Linked DNA regions of Homo sapiens: region 2 is linked to region 1. The links are contacts of gene promoters, found by promoter capture Hi-C in human tissues and cell types (Jung and others, 2019). All regions are on one chromosome and are shown on one strand. Each heading gives the region's core, a stretch centred on a gene start or on the middle of the fragment in contact. The rest is flanking DNA. Distances are from core to core; before and after follow the strand shown.

Region 1 (2,700 bases), core at 103-2,602:
AGTCATTTCCGTCCCGGGCGCCTGTTTCTTTAGCTGCCAAGTGGAGCTACGCTGAGCTCTCTCCCCCCGGGCCTCGCCCCTTTCCCGGGCATGAGCTCTGGTGATGCGCCCGGGTGCCCCGCTCTCTCCATTGTCCAGGGGCCGGGCCGCAGCACCCTCCTTGTCCGAAAGCGCGTGGTGCGGCTCCCGTCTCAGTCTCGAGTCGGGCTAGGCAACCGCGTGACTCAGTTCCCGCCACGCTGGAGCCCCCTCCTTCCTGCTGGATTATTCAGTTTCTCAGTCACTTATTCAGTTTCTCAGTCACCTCCCTGGGAGAGTTTGGGAAAGTAAGGAACGGCCGGGAAACGCGCCATAAAGGAGCCTCACCAAGCTCCACTGGGCAAAGGGAGGAATGGGAGCCCCAAATGCGGGGCTGTCAATTGGGTTGTAGGTGCGGGATGGAAAAGGGAGGATCTGCAGCCCGCATGCGCGCACACACGCTCAACGCTAGCCCCCCATCGGCCAGAGCGCTCGCAATCTCCAGGCAGCTTCTCCACCGTCCAGAAAGGGACGAAAGCAGGCAGGCCCCCACACGTGGGGTAGGAGTGAGGCTCCAGGCCCGTTCTACCCCTCTCAGCCTCGTCTAGGGTGCAGCTCTCTGCGATTTGGGGGGTTCCTTTCCCCAGCATTGAGGCCTGCCCACTCCCAACCCACAACGACCGCGCTCTGGCACTTCTCAGTGCCAGGCTAGCGCTCGGCCCTAGCATCTGCGTGGACAAGCCCTTCCCTGTGATCCCTGGTGACCACCCCACAGCTCTAACAACGCTGATGTTCCCGCCGCCCTCCCCTTTCCCAGGTGACTTCTGGTGATCCCCCTACAGGGTGATACCCGGCAACTCTCACCGCCCCCTTGACCCTTTGACTTCCATCAACCCCAGACCTGCCGTGTTGACCCCCACAGCCCCTAGACTGCCTCCTGGTGACTTCCATACTGGAGAAGGCCTCTGTCTTGCACGCTCCTTTGCAGAGGCCTGACGACCCCTGGGGAAGAGTGGGGGGAGAGCGGAAGAATGGGTTAGCCCCCAAAATCAGGCAGGACCAGCCCTGGAAGTAGGAATCCGGATCCTAAGCGTGCGCCCAGGCCGGGAGCGTGAGCTCTTGCGTCCTGGGTTGAGTTCTGGCGGCCCTCCCCCAAGGTTCCCGGAGCCGCCCCGGTCACGTGGCCGGCGGGGCCGGCAGGTAACTCGCCTGGAGAGGGCGTGGGCCGGTAGCCGCCCCGCCCCGCGGGGCGCCACGGGCGGGTCTTGGCAGCGCCCACTGAGCCAGCCGGGCCGCAGGTGCCGCCCCCGATACACGGTGTCCCGCCCAAGCTGATCCGCGTCTGCGGTCGGTCGGTGCGTGCGTGCGCCTCGTCGGTCCGCGTGTCTGGCCGAGAGCCCCCTTCCTCTGCGGCCATGACTCCGCCGCCGCCGCCGCCCCCTCCCCCGGGCCCTGACCCCGCGGCCGACCCCGCCGCGGACCCCTGCCCCTGGCCCGGATCACTGGTCGTCCTCTTCGGGGCTACGGCGGGTGCGCTGGGACGGGACCTGGGCTCGGACGAGACCGACTTAATCCTCCTAGTTTGGCAAGTGGTTGAGCCGCGGAGCCGCCAGGTAGGGTGGAAAAGAGGCGGTGAGGTCCCCAGGGAGCTTCCGGGGTCGAGGGGCGCGGCTGATCGGTTTCCCCCGCCGCTCACAGGTGGGGACGCTGCACAAATCGCTGGTTCGTGCCGAGGCGGCCGCACTGAGTACGCAGTGCCGCGAGGCGAGCGGCCTGAGCGCCGACAGCCTGGCGCGGGCAGAGCCGCTGGACAAGGTGCTGCAGCAGGTGAGCGCCGGGGTGGGTGGCGGCATGGCCTGGACGTGAGGACATTTCTGGGCGGGATTGGCGGCCGGAGGCTAGGCCTGGCGTGCCGCAACCAACCGGTCCAGGCGGCAGGACTGGGCTCTTGTTTGAAACTTTGAGCGACTCTCGCGTGTGCGTGCCCCTTTCATCCGCGCGTGCCAGCCATTCCCCTGGGCTCCTTACTTTTCAACCATTGCAGGAACCTACTCCTACCGAAGGGATCGGGACGCAGGCTTTGGGATCCATCCCCAGTTCCCGCCCGGGGAGCGAGGCCGAGACGCCTTTGGGAGACCTGCTGGGTCAGGTCTCCCTGAGCCGCAGCCGGAAGCGAAAGGGGTCGAGGGGCCCATATAGGTCACCTGTCCTTGCGGCCCGCGTCTTCGGCCTGCTTGGGAGCTGCTGGAGCGGAGGCGTAGGGCGGTGTCGGCCCTAGAGGTAGACGCCGCCAGGTGTAAACTGCTCGTCTAGGCCTGTCCCGGCCGGCTGGCCAGGCGTGGGCGCTGTCCCGGCCTGGCCTGGGGGACTATCTGCCTGCTGAGTGCAAAGGCCTGGGGTGCCTCCTGCCCTAGCTGAAGTGGGAGGTGGTTTCCATTGCTGTTTTCTTTTCCTTATCTTCACTACGGCGCTCATTCTATGTCTGACTCTTGAGTGTAATTAGTGTAAGTCCTTTTTATACACTCACGTTCTTTCATCTTCCAACAACTCTTGTGGTTCCTGATGAGGAGGCACCACGATGATGATTCCTTGTCTGTTCCAGAAGGGCTCCCGGCCCTTCACTTGGGGAGTTTGCTGGAGGAGAGCTGGGTTGCCTTGCTCTGTCAGCCCCAAGTTGTAAAG
Region 2 (2,700 bases), core at 177-2,676, 960 kb before region 1:
GACAACAGAGATCAATATCAAAACATCTCTGGTGAAGAATGGTTTCCAGAATTCACTTTAGTCTTTCATTGCTGTTTTTAGCAGAATTTGTATTTGCCCAGAGCCAGTTTAATTTTTTCAATTACTTTGTGTTCATTGTAAAAAATATGTATTTTTATCCTAGAATGTAATTAATAATCTTTGAAGAGACAATACAGAATCCATAGTACTCAAAAAAATTATCTACACTACTAGTGGTTTTCTAAAATGTTGCCATCCCTTACTGCAATGAAAACAGAGCTAACAATGTAAATACTTTTACTGGCCAACAATTACAGCAAAATGAGGCAAATCAAAGACATTTAGTGTTCAGTAAAACAGATTTTGTTTCATTTGGGCAAAGATTTACTTGTAAAGATGAATATACTTTGGAGAATGCTACTTTGTTAAAACTGGTGTTTTCCAAAAGTAAAATAACATAGTAATATATCAAAAGTAAAAGCAGTAACAAAAAAGTTTGGCTAGAATAATTACAAAAGAAAAATTAATTTTTACATTACAAAACAGTTTGCAGATAATGAATACAATTATTACAAGATATTTCAGAAGTCAGTTATATTACTAATAAAATATTTAAACTATTTTTAAAAAGGGGTACAGAGCCTTGAAAATGGGCTATTTCATCAAATCTGTTTGCTGAAGTTTGAACATCACTGCTTGTTCCAGTCTTTGCTCTCTAGACATGCCTTTCCCCTCTAAACATGCCCTCCATCCTTCCCACCACCCACACCTATTCCATGTCCCACCCTTCTCTCACTTGACCCAAAATACATTCCTACTACTTGCTCACTTATTCCAAGTTCTCTCAGCATTTGTCTACCACTTATAATGTATGAAATACTTTGGATTCACTTATGTGCAGTTTATTAGTATTTACAAACCCATTTTGGGTACTTCTTAAAAGTAAAATCTTTGGGGCTTACATATTCTATTTCTCTCAGAGTGTCTAACAGAGTGTAGTTATTCAATATGAGTTGATTAATTACATACAGCTTTAGGTCCAGCATGAAAAAAAAAAATGAGGAAAAGACTGAGAGACATTAACTGGATAACCTCCAGATAGATGCAACAACACAGAATCCAAAGCACAATTTTCCTGAAAATTAAGCCAATCATAACAATAAATCCTGTCTTTAGACTTGCTAGCTTCTTAACCCAAACTGATCCACCAGAGAGGCAGTCTATTATAATGGTTAATATCAAAGGCTGTGTAGTTTGATAAATCTGAGTAACTAATCTTGCCTCTATCACCTACAAATTCTATAACCTTGCACTGACTGTTTAATCTTCCAGGACTCAATTTATTTATATTTTATATGGGGATGATGCCACCTGACTCACAGGGCTGTTAAAAGAATAAGTTGTGGCCAGGTGCGGTGGCTCACGCCTGTAATCCCAGGACTTTGGGAGGCCAAGGTGGGCAGATCACAAGGTCAGGAGTTCGAGACCAGCCTGACCAATATGGTGAAACTCCATCTCTACTAAAAATACAAAAATTAGCCGGGCATGGTAGCGCGTGTCTGTAATCCCAGCTACTCAGGAGGCTGAGGCAGGAGAATCGCTTGAACCCAGGAGGCAGAGGTTGCAGTGAGCCGAGATCACACCACTACACTCCAGCCTGGGTGACAGGGCCAAACCCCATCTCAAAAAAAAAAAAAAAAGAAAAAGAAAAGAAAAACAAAGTTGTGATCATAAAGAGCTTAGCAGAGTAAGCTCTCCATAAGTGTCATTATTATCTATTTTGATTCCTTTTGTTTTTAAAAATGTACAACTTAGCCACTTTTGTTTTTTCTCTTTTTGAGACAGGGTCTTGCTCCATTGCCCAAGCTGGAGTATAGTGGCTCAAACATGGCTCACTGCAGCCTCAATCTCCCGAGCTCAAGTGATCCTCCCACCTCAGCCTCCCAAGTAGCTGGGACCACAGGCACTCGCCACCTCACCTGGCTAATTTTTTACATGTTTTGTAGAGACAGGGTCTCGCCATGTTGTGCAGGCTGGTCTTGAACTACTAGGCTGAAGTGATTCCACCTGGACCTCCCAAAGTGCTGGGATTACAGGTGTGAGCCAACATGCCCGGCCAAAATTATTTTAAGCCCTATAGCCTGTTATAGTGTACATAAGTTAACCTAGCAACCACCCCACTCCAGATTTTATAGTCTGGTGAGGCTGCCAACCTCAATACACAAGGGATGGGCACGTGACACAGGTCTAGATTGCAGTCTCCATCATTTTGGTAATAGTGATAGGTCCGAGGAACTGGCAAAGCAGAACTATTGGAGTCCTTCCTATCTCCAAACTGATAATGTGAGTGGTAAAAGAACCCTCCAGTTTTTCTTACAGGGGTTAGTTATTAAGTTAAGGCAATATGTTCCTAGAGCTGCAGGCACCATCTTAGCTGACTATACAGAATTAGACCCTCCACAGCAGGAGATGTTGCAGCCAAGATAATTTGAGCCTTTGGATCCCACTGAACCTAAACCTAGATCCACCCCCGGTCTCAGGAGTTACATAAGGCAATACATTCCACTTCTGCTTAAATTAGTTGGTTTTGGGTTTCTGCAACCAAAATAATTCTTACTAAAAAAAAAAAAAAATGCAAACCAGGAACAGTAATTAGTTCATGCCTGTAATCCCAACTACTCCAGAGGTTAAGGCAAGAGG

Evidence for each region. Contacts are between HindIII fragments. The study calls those that stand out against the background at their distance.
Region 2: a contact is called between a fragment that was not itself captured here and the fragment with the promoter of ESRP2 in region 1, in 1 of the 25 tissues and cell types used here (pancreas).

Annotation. Positions count from the first base shown.
Region 1 is chr16:68,234,779-68,237,478 of GRCh38, reverse strand. ESRP2 (epithelial splicing regulatory protein 2) reads left to right here and starts at 1,352. Exons shown (of 15, transcript NM_024939.3): 1 at 1,352-1,631; 2 at 1,717-1,845. The coding sequence starts at 1,434. RefSeq lists enhancers at 1-564, 565-1,153 and a silencer at 1,175-1,404. The HindIII fragment of the contact is 21,026 bases long and covers 1-2,700 here.
Region 2 is chr16:69,195,377-69,198,076 of GRCh38, reverse strand. The region is part of intron 1 of SNTB2 (syntrophin beta 2); the gene reads right to left. Among named protein-coding and RNA genes, the nearest start is that of SNTB2, 9.6 kb to the right of the region's middle. The HindIII fragment of the contact is 9,382 bases long and covers 1-2,700 here.